Regions from separate parts of the Homo sapiens genome. Here all the other regions are linked to region 2. The links are contacts of gene promoters, found by promoter capture Hi-C in blood cells and fetal thymus (Javierre and others, 2016). All regions are on one chromosome and are shown on one strand. Each heading gives the region's core, a stretch centred on a gene start or on the middle of the fragment in contact. The rest is flanking DNA. Distances are from core to core; before and after follow the strand shown.

Region 1 (3,932 bases), core at 648-3,147, 300 kb before region 2:
ACTCTTGAGATGACAGGCACTGCTGCCCCTCCCAGGAGTCCAGAGAAGGGACACCTCTCTTCCAAGTGAGGGTCCCGTCCCTCTGCACCCTGTGAGGCAGGACAGAGGACAACCAGAGAGCTAGTGTGGCTTGTCCACAGTCAAGGCACCAGATGTGGCAGAGCCAGGATGCAAGTTGGGTCTTTCTGCCTCCAAGTCCAGTGCTCTTTCCACTAGCCTTGAAGACTCAATGACCAGCCTCCTCCCATTCTTCAGCGGAGGAAACTGAGGCCCCAGGACGTGTGGTTCACAACTGAGACAGAAAATGAAAGAACTTGCTGTTTTGTGACTCAGTTCCACACACCCCAGAATCCCACTGGGGCTGGGTTTGGCCATCTGATTCCAGCCTCGTTTTTTGGTTTTGTGTTTTCAAAGCACAAATAAAGAAATAAACAAAATCCCCCAGGAAATAAGAGACCCCAAAGCAAGCTCCAATAACTGGCCGGCCAGGGCTTTGAGTCTATACTCGAGTGTTTACCTCCCAAATGCATGAAGGAAAGAAACGCTGGGTACAAACGACCTCCGTTCACATTGTCCAGGCTTCCAAGTGTAGCCGTGTGTCTGTCTGTGTGTGCCATGTGGCTCCCGGCCTCCCCGTGGCATGCAGCCCGCCCCCGAATGTCATCTGTCCGCCAGCTCCCATGTGCTTTCTGGCTGCCTCTGCTCTGCACCTCAGAAAGCCCTGGGTTGGCTTTGGTTTGCTTTGCTGCCTTTGGTTTGATGTTCCCGTTCTGTTTGGCCCTCATGTGTCTCTCTCATCCCAACTCATCCAACCGTCTCTCCTTTCTGTGCCTTTTCTGTTTGTGACACGTAACATGTTCCATGTTGTATGGTTTCTTAACTGTGTGTGGTTTTCCTAAGATGAATTTTTTTAATAGCCTCTCCTCTTTCCTACTTGATTCCCACCTGGTCCTCCTCCCTGTCTGCATGGTTGAACCTCTGCTTTAAAGTGAACAAGGCTCAGTCTCTCACTAGGTGTGGGTGCCCGCAGGAGTCGACTGTGCTTCCTTTAACCACTGTTCCCCATCATCTCTTTGATGGTGCTTGGTGATTCCTCCTGTCCTAACACTAGTTTCTACCAAAACCAAAGAGATTTTTAAAAACCAGCTCAAGGATGCCTATAACCTGAGCCCCCTTTTTCACTCTCCCCCATCCTGTCAATGCTAATAACACCCAGCGACTATGGATTCCAGCCACCTGCTTTGCCCTAACCCTTCTCCCACCCGCCCCTCCTGTGAGCCCCCCGAGCCTGGCTGTGGTCCCTGGGCAGTGCTCCTGACCCCTGTGCTTCCCTTGCAGATCCGCGTCGTGAAGGCGTTCCGTAGCTCTCTCTATGAAGGTTTAGAAAAGCCTGAATCTCGAACCTCCATCCATAACTTCATGGCTCATCCTGAATTCCGGATCGAAGATTCCCAGCCCCACATCCCCCTCATTGATGACACCGACCTGGAAGAAGATGCCGCGCTCAAGCAGAACTCGAGCCCGCCGTCATCCCTCAACAAGAACAACAGCGCCATCGACAGTGGGATCAACCTGACGACCGACACAAGCAAATCAGCTACCTCTTCAAGTCCAGGGAGCCCCATCCACAGCCTGGAGACGTCGCTTTAGCTGAGGACCCTCTCGCCTGCCCGCCCGCCCTCATGGACCCCGCTGCCACCCGCTTTCCGGGCACCCATCCATCCAGGCACCCAACTCACCCAAGCAGCAACGAGCAACAATCGGAAACCAAATACTGGAGAGAAAACCAACGTTTCCACCCACAGACCCTTTCTCTGGCTGCGATGCTGTTTGAACTCTTTTTCACTTCAAGGCAAGGGGCGGGATCTCCACTGGGGGCTTACGGGAGTGAGCGGTTTTCCCAAAACAAGCCCTTCCTGGCTCCCACCCAGACATGGACCAGCCATGCACCCGCCCAGCCACCACGTCCCCCGCATGAATGTACTGTACACTTTCAATCCTCCCCTTGTTTGGTTTTTGGGGGTTGGGGAGGGGTTTTTGTTTGTTTGTTTGTTTTCTTAGGCGGGAACTGCAAACAGACTCTTTTCTGAGACTATTTATCCAATCCACTGGTCTGTGAGTTTTTGAAATGCTTGCACAGCATGGTCTCAGTTGTATAGATTAATTTAATAACTTTTTGAAATTGCAGAGCTTAACTCGCCTAGTAGATTTGCACCAATGGAACCGAAGAACTTCATAGACACTCACAAGGTTATATCCATTTCTTTGTATCTATATCAACGTATACTTTTCCGAGACTGTATACGTCCATATAGATAGGTAGATATATATATATATATATAAATATATATACATGGATATATAAAGTTTCTTTGCCGGCATGTTGCCTTGTTTCCGCTTAAATTGCTCTATTTTAACTTATTTATGTCCTAAAAGAAGAATGTAATTTGTTTACAAACCTGTAGATAACGTCTTTGGCTATTTGTATGGTTTAAGAACACTGGTGGCTGAGATGCTATAAAAACAGCTCGGCCCAACAGACACTTCCCCTGGGTTGCATCCTGGATGTTTTATGATAGCCATGCTCTGATTTTTGCCTGCTATTTCCGTTCAATAATGTCACTACCGTGAGAGGCTCAGGCAGAAGCCAAATGCTACCGAGTTGCCATCCTGAGGGGTTTAACAACATGCTCCGTAGACGAAGGGAGAGGAGGAGAGAAGGCTTCCTGGGTTTGCAACACTAACGGCCATCCGGCCCAAGGATGCCAGGATCTGCAAAGCACTGCTCGAAGACTTTTCTCTCAATGAAACTCGCTTGAGTTTACTAAGAGCATTTCAAAAATAGGTTCTCTTTGGCACTGTCTGTACAGAGATTGAGGTAGTGTTGAAATATTATAAATGGTATTGTGTTGATTTTTTTTTTTATTTAGTAACTTACAGGTTTGTTTCCTTATTAATGGCAGCATCTGAGCTGTTGGCATATTGGATGAGGATCAGTATGGCTTGCTGCTTTTATTTTTATTTTTGAAGAAGAATAGCCTTTTTCTCTGCACTATTTAGATCCGAATGAACCTTATGATGTGTATATTGAGATGTACTCAGTGTGATTTTAAACCAAATTGTCTTCCTGTAGTCACAATATATACTGTAGCCTTTTAACAGCAAGTCTTGCTTTCCCAAACAGAAAGCCATTCTGAAACCCTACAGTATCACAGGTGAGAAAAGGTGGTTATTTTTTCCCCAAGACAACAGCACTAGTAATCCCACTTAATAAGAGCTTATTTAATTGGATGTCAGCCTCTTAACTGCTAAGCACTTTGTGGGTCTCAGCGTTTTTCATAAAAGAACTTTTGTATTTAATACAAAGTTTGCTTTGAGACTTTTCAGCATATGATCTTTTTTCCATAAACTTGTACAGTGCAAAAGACATTTTGAATACCATGATCGATGATGTCCCATGCTTCGAGGAAAACCAAACACTTTCCGCCTCTCTTGCAAAATCCATTCCTCATGCTGACCCTCCTCACGATGGCTGTGTCAGCCCAGCCCCTTCCCTTCTCCAGGCCCAGAGAACTCTTCCACAAACAAGATGAGAGCCACTCGGGAAAAGAGCCATAGTCAACTGGGAGGGCCTACATCTGGATGGCGGTGGAAAAACTTGAGGGTTTGGGGTTCAAAGTCAGCCCATCCCACCTGGCAAAATCCTCCTGGAAGGAGGACCTTCAAGAGCGCATCACCTGAATGTCGTGAAGAAGTATCTCTGAATGTATCCAGGAGAGGAACTGCATAACCAAAGGGGTGACCAGCCCTCAGATGTGCTTATTGGATTCCAGTACAAACGCCACCAAAGCCAGCCCACTGCTCTCCTACAAGGAAGGAAAGATCTGCACGTGTAAAACATGGGGCAGCCTTGGAACATGGTGTTTTTTGGA
Region 2 (4,227 bases), core at 696-3,195:
CACTCTCCATCTGAGATTCAAGACCCTCCATTATCTATCCCCAACGTACCTGTCCTTTAATTCATGATTTCAATACTATATGTTAGGGACTGTGCTAGGTGCTGGGGTTACAACTGTGAACTAGACAGACATGATCCCTGTCCTCAGGGAATTTACAGTATGGTAACAAATAGCCTTAATGTACTGAACTACAGTTATGTAAGTGCTATAAAAGTACAGGTTCTATGAGGGCTTACTAGGAAATTTAGTCTAGTTGCTAGTAAGGGTGGTAAAGAGAAGCAAGGACCATTTCTTAGGGACAATCTCCTTGAATTTTTTTTTTTTTTTTTTTAGTAGAGACAGGGTTTCACCATGTCGGCTAGGCTGGTCTCAAACTCCTGACCTCAAGTGATCCACCCACCTCGGCCTCCCAAAGTGCTGGGATTACAGGTGTGAGCCGCCCGGCCTAAAGAAGTGATTTTTTTTTTTTTTTTTTTTGAGACGGAGTCTCACTCTGTCACCCAGGCTGGAGTGCAGTGGTGCAGCCTCGGCTCACTGCAAGCTCCACCTCCCGGGTTCACACCATTCTCCTGCCTCAGCTTCCCAAGTAGCTGGGACTACAGGCGCCCGCCACCACGCCCGGCTAATTTTTTGTATTTTTAGTAGAGACGGGGTTTCACCGTGTTACCCAGGATAGTCTTGATCTCATAACCTCATAATCCGCCCGCCTCGGACTCCCAAAGTGCTGGGATTACAGGCGTGAGCCAACCGCGCCCGGCCTGAAGAAGTGATTTTTAGGCAGGGACTTGAGGGCTGAAACAGCAGTTAGCCAGTAGAAGGGGTAGGAGAAGAGGAGTCCAGGCAAATAGATACTCATACTGAAACAAGGAGATGTGGAGTTAGAAATCAGACAGCAGAGGTGGGGGAAGTGCCTGAATCACATGACCTTTTAATCTTGTAAATCAGAACCTTCGTGGTCTCAGTGCCTTTGCACAAAGGTGTTCTTTTCATCTGAAGTGCTCTTATTTGCCTGGAAATTCCTACTCAGATCTAAACATTCAATCGAATGTCATCTTCCTTGAAAAGTGTTCCTCCTATCCCTAAGGGAGTTTGCTACTGCAGCTTCCCTGCTCCACAGGGTATACCTAGGGGCCCTTACCTCACACTAGACTGGGGCTCTTTGAGAGCAGGAACCCAGTCTCACTTACTCAATGTCCCTAATGCCCAGCATAGTTACCGGCATAAGGAAAATTTCTGAGAATATTCAGAGTGAAAAAAGCTCGCAGTGCAGGGGAAATGCTAAAAGCTAACAAGAACTGTTTCAAGTGCTTTATATTTAATAATTCATTTATTTCCCACAAAACTTTTTGAGGTGGGTACCATTATTCTCATCATCACGGGCAGAACTGGGATTCTAACTCGGAGTCTGGCTTCAGCACCTGCGCTCTTCACCACCTATACTTACTCTTGATGATTATAATGACTTCTAATAATGGTTAACATTTACGAGGTACCGGGCCCTGTGCTAAACTTTTTATTTATCGCCGCTTCGGTTAATACGGATAACCATTATCAGCCATCTTGCAGATGGAAAAACTAAGTCTTGTCAGCACGTCCGGCTTCCAGGCACCCGCCTTTAACACGTGCGATACCATCTGGCTTCCAGAAAAGCCCAACAGAAGTGAGATGAGGCCGACTGCCTGGATTAGTTCATCGGGAAGCGGGTGAGGGTAAAAGCCTTTCTCGTTTCCGCATTTTAATGACGCAGAAAGGTACCTGTGGGGATTATCCCATCTCAGGGCAGATGAGGAAGCCAAGGTTCGGGGCGCGGAGCCCCAGAGGAGAACGCCGACCGCGGCCCGGACTTAGAGATTAGGCCGCAGGGGAGCGGGGCCTCGAGAGACTACGACCATTGCTCCACTTACTCACCGAGAAGCCGTCGCCGCCCGTAGTTTTCGACTTTCCCGCCAGGCCCGACGCCGCTCTGACGCCACCGAGGCGCGCCATGACGTGACGCCAACTTCCGCGCCGGAAGTGGAAGGCCGGGCAGCCCAGCTGAAGGCAATAAGCTGGGCTCACCGCTGCAGCAGAGTTCTGTGCTAGCCGGGCATAGGGGCGAGAGAAGGCCCAGAGGCGACGTCAGAGAGAAGCAACTGCGCCCCGGTGAAGAGAAGCTCGCCCATCACCGGCTGGGAGCCAGCTTTCAGTGAAGATGGCAGGGCCAGAACTGTTGCTTGACTCCAACATCTGCCTCTGGGTGGTCCTACCCATCGTTATCACTCTTCGTAGACATGATCCGCCACTACGTGTCCATCCTGCTGGAGAGCGACAAGAAGCTCACCCAGGAACAAGTATCTGACAGGTCAGCGCCCTCCCTTCCCCAGCCTACCTCACACCGCCGTGACCTTGGACAAGAAAGTGCAGGCGTTGTGTCAGTTTGCCTAGGTTCACGTCTCGCCCCCACTGGCAAGGTGACCTTACCCGTTACCTCTGTGTTTCACTTTTGTCCTCTGTGAAATGGGGATAATAACAGTACCTCCCTCATAGACAGGTGGGAATCAAATTAGATGATGTCTGTAAATCCCTTAGCACAGGATCTAGGACGTATTGAGTGTTAAAAACAAAAAACAAAAACGGTGCTGTTAATCCTTTAGGTTAGTCGCCAACCCTCGGTGGGTTTACCTATGAACTATCCCATCCCACCCTTTCGTTGGGAAGAGTGCCTGGTGCTTTATAGCTTTTAGTATTTGTAACATCCAGTCAAGTGAGTGTGATAATCTGCATTCTACCAAATTACTGTTCCAATGGTTAGCTGAGATGCTAAGCACCAAAGCGCTTTGCAATCTGTAACACTGCTGTTAGACATGTAAGGAATTGTAATTATCATTTCCCTTCCTAGGGTGGAGGCAACTTCCTCACATACTTCATTGCAGTATTTATTTATTTATTTAATTTAACTTAATTTAATTTTTGAGACGGAGTTTCGCTCTTGTTGCACTAGATTAAGTATCTATTATTTTTCCGTTTGCATATTTTATCACTTGAACAGAAACTCTGAGCGCAGGGTCATGACCTTGCCTTACTCTATACCCCATAGCATGCAGCAGAGTGCAAGGCACATGGTAGGCCATCAAAAAACTTGTTCACAGCCAGGCGTGGTGGCTCTCACCTGTAATCTCAATACTTTGGGAGGCTGAGGTGGGAGGATCGCTTGAGCCCTGGAGTTCAAGACCAGCCTGGGCAACACAATGAGACCACTGTCTCTACAAAAAAATTTAAACATTAGCCAGGTGCAGTGGTGTGTGCCTGTAGTCCCAGCTACTCGGGAGGCTGAGGTGTGAGGATCACTTGAGCCCGGGAGTTCGAGGCTGAAGTGAGCCATGATCGCACCACTGCGATTGCAGCCTCAATCACTGCAGCCTCGACCTTTTTGGTCCAGCCTGGGTGACAAAGCAAGACCCTGTCTCCAGAAAAACAAACGAAAAAACACTTGTTCAGTCTACGATAATTCAAGACTTTTCCAGGCAGTGTAATCAAAAGAAATTCATCTAGCTCTCCTATATTTACGCTGCTGAATAGTTTTGTAGAAATGGAGTTGAATATCATGACCCTGAGGTATTTTAAGACCCTAAATAAGCAATCTTAAATTATCCTGTATTTTCTAAACACTCAATATCTGTGTTATCTGAAGTTTGCAAATTCCGCAAGAAATTTTTAATTTTGTATTTTTATTTTTGTGAATATCTAAAAATAAGTCCTTGTACTGTTATAAAGATAAAGCTTTGTAATTTGTAACTGAAAGACATCTATTTATTTTTGGCAGAGACAGGGTCTCACTATGTTGCCCAGTTGGTCTCAAATTCCTGGGCTCAAGGGATCCTCCCATCTCAGCCTCCCAAAGTGCTGGGATTATAAGTGTGAGCCACTGTACCAGGCCTAAATGACATTGTCTTAGAATAAAACTTTAAACTCGGTACCTCTCAAACCAGAGTTCCATATTCTTAAGAATCTATGTCTTCTCCTTTCCAAAAAGTCAGTAGTATATTCTTCAAGTTCGAGAACCATTTTTTACACACATTCTATCCCCAAACCTAGTCTAATATATTTTATTCATGTATTTTTCAGCTTTGGTTTAATACCTGTCAGAATTTTTTTTTTTTTTTTTTTGAAACATTGTCTTGCTCTGTTGCCCAGGCTGAAGCTGGGGAATAAGGTCAGTGATGCTTCTGCCATCCCTATGGAGCCACA
Region 3 (3,664 bases), core at 381-2,880, 320 kb after region 2:
TGGGAAAAGAGTGGAACCGGTGTGGGGTGGGGCTGGGTGGGGGAGAGGGTGGAAAGGGGTCGGGCACCGAGTCTTGGTGAAAATTTTGGGTGGAGGGATGGGCGGCCGTGGACCCGAATTCAGCTTTGGTCTCCTTTTGGGGAGGAGTCAGGGTGGGCTGAGTAGTCAGACGGTCAAGCCTGGGCCGAGGCCAAGTCAGGGGCTGCTGGGGGCAGGGTTGTGTGGAAGGGGTCGGGCCTGAGGTGGAGCTGCGATAGGAGCAGAGTTGTGGGCGGGGCCAGAGCGGGGGACGGAACTGGACCGCATCTCATAAAAGGGCAGGGCTCAGGCTAGAGGGGGCCATTCAGAATGGGAGGGAGGCCTGCGAGAAGAACCAGGCCGGAGGCGAGGCGGGGGTGGGGCCAGCCAGAATTCCGGGCGGATCCAGGTCGGGGGCGGGCCAAGCCAGAATTCCAGGCGGGGCCTCACACATCGAAGCGCAGATTTTGCTTTTCCTCAAAGAAATAGTCGAGGACGAATTTGCGCACGAAGTCTGGGTTCAGCGTGTTATCAATCACCTCGGTCCGTCCGAACTGGGTAGGGGGGTGGAGGGTCAGCGTGGGACGTGCAGACGGGCAGGGGAATTCCCGGGCGACGCCCTGGGCCGGGAGGGGGCTCTGGGACTCACCTCCCGCCACTCCTGGCTGGCCCGGCTCTGCGTGTAAAGCACCACCACTGCAGGTGGGGGCGGGGAGGGAAGGACGTCAGGTCGGCTCCCACCCCTGGCCCCGACTCCACCCGCCCCTGAGTCGCGCCCAGACCCCAAGTTCCCCCTCCCGGTCCTGGAGCCGCCTACTGGGGTCGGACTTGGAGAAGGTATCAAGGTCTAGCAGGTTCCTAGAGAAAAGCAACAGACAGACAGAGTGGATCATCCTGGAGTCCGCCCGCCTCGAGTCGGCTCTGAGCCGGGCACTGAGGAGAGGCATGGGGCCCGCATCGAACCTCTGTCCCCCATGGCTACCCCCAGCCGGGGTCCGCTCTGTCAGCACTCTGGACAGCACCGGAAATCGCTGTCCAGGAACCATGGCTCTGCGGACTGGACGCGAACGCACCCACACTGTCTCCAAGGGCCCAGGAAAGAGGGCTCGCCCCAGAACTTTGTCCTCCTGGGGCCGAGCTCCTACCGGATATCTGCGACCCACCCCCTGAACCCGCAGGCTGAGCCCTTTTTTCGGGGTGGGGCTGCCCAAGACCCCCCGCTTCTCGATCCCACCAGCTACTCGCCCTGTCATCAGCTGTGATTTTCCAGCCAATTTCGCCTCTCCCCGGGGGTCTAGCCCCTGCCCAGGCTGAGCCCCGCGGCTGGCTGGGGCTGGGGCAGTGCCAGTGCCTAAGCCCTCCCCAGCGCGGCCCGCTCACCGGCAGGACACGGTAATTTCAATCTTGGTGGCCGGGACGCTGCGCTCGGAGGCTCCGCCGAGAGACATGGCTGGTCGGGCGACCAGAGCCGCAGGAGGCTGCGAGACCAGGGCTGCTGGGGCTAGGGGCGACGGCAGCGGCGGGGCCGGCCCATGTGCCGCGGTGTCGGCGGCGGCGGCGGCTGCACTCGCTCCAGCCCTGCGTGCGCTCCAGCCGCTCGCGCCCTGACAGTGGCCGCCGGCGGCAGCGGCTCCAGATGGCAGCACAGCCCCGCCCGGCCCTGCGGGCGGCCCCCGCCCCATTGGAGCAGCCTGGAGCCAGCGGGGAACCTCACCCCGACTCCCAACTCCAACCCACACCTTGGTAGAGTCTGCCCTGCGCAAGTCTCTGGGGTGGAAACCCAAGCCCCCTAGAGTTGTCCATGATGCTGAAACATTTGGGGCACCTGGTGGGCACTGGAATTGTTGCCTCTTACTGAGCCACTCCCTTAGTGTTTCTGTCTTTTCCCACTCCCAGCCTGCCTAGGTCTCTGAATAGGAAAAGTACATCTCTTAGTAGCTGTGTGACCTTGGACAAGTTACTCAACATCTCTGTGGCTCAACCGTGAAAGGCCGTCAGAAAGGCCTTTAACAGCAGCTACTTTAGGTGCTGTAAAATTTTACTGAGATAACCCAAGGAAAACACTTAGCACACAGCAAGTGCTCAGTAAACATTCACTGGTATTTATGATTTGTCCTCTGGGTATTCACAATGATGACAGTAAATGGTGGCTGTTGAGCACCGTGCAAAGCTGTCTGCCCATGCCTTTAACCCTCACGACTTTCATGGCGTTACAGATGCGGACACACTCTCATGACGCAATCTACTGTAGGTTACACTGTAGAAGAGGGTGGTGGTCAGCCAGGCTCTCACCCACCACACATGCACACCAATTGCTATCTCCAAAGCTTCAGAAGCCAGTCCTTCCTCCATAGGCAGGGCTCAAGGTAGGGGATGCAGGTCACCCGTACCAGGACCCTGCTGCCTACAGAACTTGTTAAAGATGAAGATCCTGGTCAGGTACGGTGGCTCATGCCTGTAATCCCAGCACTTTAGGAGGCCAAGGCAGGCAGATCACTTGAGCTCAGGAGTTTGAGACTGGCCTGGCCAACATGGTGAAACCCCATCTCTACTAAATACAAAAATTAGCTGGGGATGGTGGCACGTTCACGTAGCTACTCAGGAGACTGAGGCAGGAGGATCGCTTGAACCCAGGAGGCAGGGGTTGCAGTGAGCCAAGATTGTGCCATTGCACTCCAGCTTGGGTAACAGTGAGACTCCATCTCAAAAAATCTGAAAAAAATGAAGATCCTCCAGCTCCTAATTCCCAGGCAACTTCCTTAGCAACCCTAAGGCTAAAGCTCAGGCAGCCCTGGGAATGTGCACAGCTCATCAGGCTCTCTAGGTGACTAGGACCTGCTTAGGCCCGAGAACCACTACTCTCAACAGTCTTGAGTGTTGTCCCCACTGCAGGGACTACCATGGCTCATGAGTGGAGAGGTATACCTGTCGCCAGTTCTCTTCCTGTTTCACCTGCCCTCCACATAAAAACCCCTTGTCCAGCACAAGGAAGGACAATGAGAACCTTCCTAGTAGCTCCACAAAGACAATAACCAAATGATGACACAAGAGTGGCTATTCAAAAAGACTTTGATTTTATTTTGTGATCTGTGTCAAACTGCCTCATTCTCAGTGCAGGTGATCCCTCCTCCCCAGAAACAAGAACTGACAGGTAGGGTCTTTGTGAAGTCATGGCTTCCACAAGGCCCCAGGGAAACCCCACACAGTTCTGAGAGTTGATGGGAATCCCAGCAAAGATGGGGTGGGTGGGAGACAGTGACAAGAAGGGGTGGTGGTCACCAGTCAAGAGGCTGGGGGTTGGAAAACCCTGTCTTTGGCCTTGCTCAGCTTTGGGGCTGCCATGTTCATGATGGAGATGGGGGACTGAAATTTCCCCTGACCTGGAAGTACCCCTTCGGCCAGGCATGGCTTTGATTCTCTGCTAAGGGCTCAGCTGAGAGAGGAGCAGGAAAATGTCATGGGCTGGCTTCTTCACAAGGCATTGCTGCTGATGCTCCGGAGTCCAACACCACGGGCAAATTGCTCCAGCAGGCCCCCGATGGCACCGGAAGGACTGGGGGCTACTGCCCGAAGCCCCACTGTGCTGCTGTACGCAGCCAAGAAGGCTGAGCGCACCTCCTGCAGCCGAGTCTCTCGATCACTCAGG

The links. The method cuts DNA at HindIII sites, captures the fragments that hold promoters and counts their contacts. A CHiCAGO score of 5 or more calls a contact.
Region 1: a contact is called between a fragment that was not itself captured here and the fragment with the promoter of FANCD2 in region 2, in 2 of 17 cell types (activated CD4 T cells and fetal thymus). The highest score is 6.1, in activated CD4 T cells.
Region 3: a contact is called between the fragment with the promoter of CPNE9 here and the fragment with the promoter of FANCD2 in region 2, in 2 of 17 cell types (monocytes and total CD8 T cells). The highest score is 6.7, in monocytes.

Annotation. Positions count from the first base shown.
Region 1 is chr3:10,326,532-10,330,463 of GRCh38, reverse strand. It overlaps ATP2B2 (ATPase plasma membrane Ca2+ transporting 2), which reads left to right. Exons shown (of 23, transcript NM_001001331.4): 23 at 1,339-3,932. The coding sequence ends at 1,650. It overlaps MIR378B (microRNA 378b), which reads right to left and starts at 235; the gene lies at 179-235. RefSeq lists an enhancer at 1,632-2,180. The HindIII fragment of the contact is 4,701 bases long and covers 1-3,932 here.
Region 2 is chr3:10,024,155-10,028,381 of GRCh38, reverse strand. It overlaps FANCD2 (FA complementation group D2), which reads right to left and starts at 1,945. Exons shown (of 44, transcript NM_001018115.3): 1 at 1,909-1,945. It also overlaps the pseudogene CIDECP1. RefSeq lists enhancers at 1,212-1,846, 1,847-2,482, 3,118-3,754. The HindIII fragment of the contact is 7,543 bases long and covers 1-3,761 here.
Region 3 is chr3:9,701,799-9,705,462 of GRCh38, reverse strand. It overlaps CPNE9 (copine family member 9), which reads right to left and starts at 1,630. Exons shown (of 21, transcript NM_153635.3): 1 at 1,399-1,630; 2 at 836-876; 3 at 668-714; 4 at 469-572. The coding sequence starts at 1,466. It overlaps MTMR14 (myotubularin related protein 14), which reads right to left. Exons shown (of 19, transcript NM_001077525.3): 19 at 3,070-3,664. The coding sequence ends at 3,490. RefSeq lists an enhancer at 1,081-1,991. The HindIII fragment of the contact is 18,760 bases long and covers 1-2,347 here.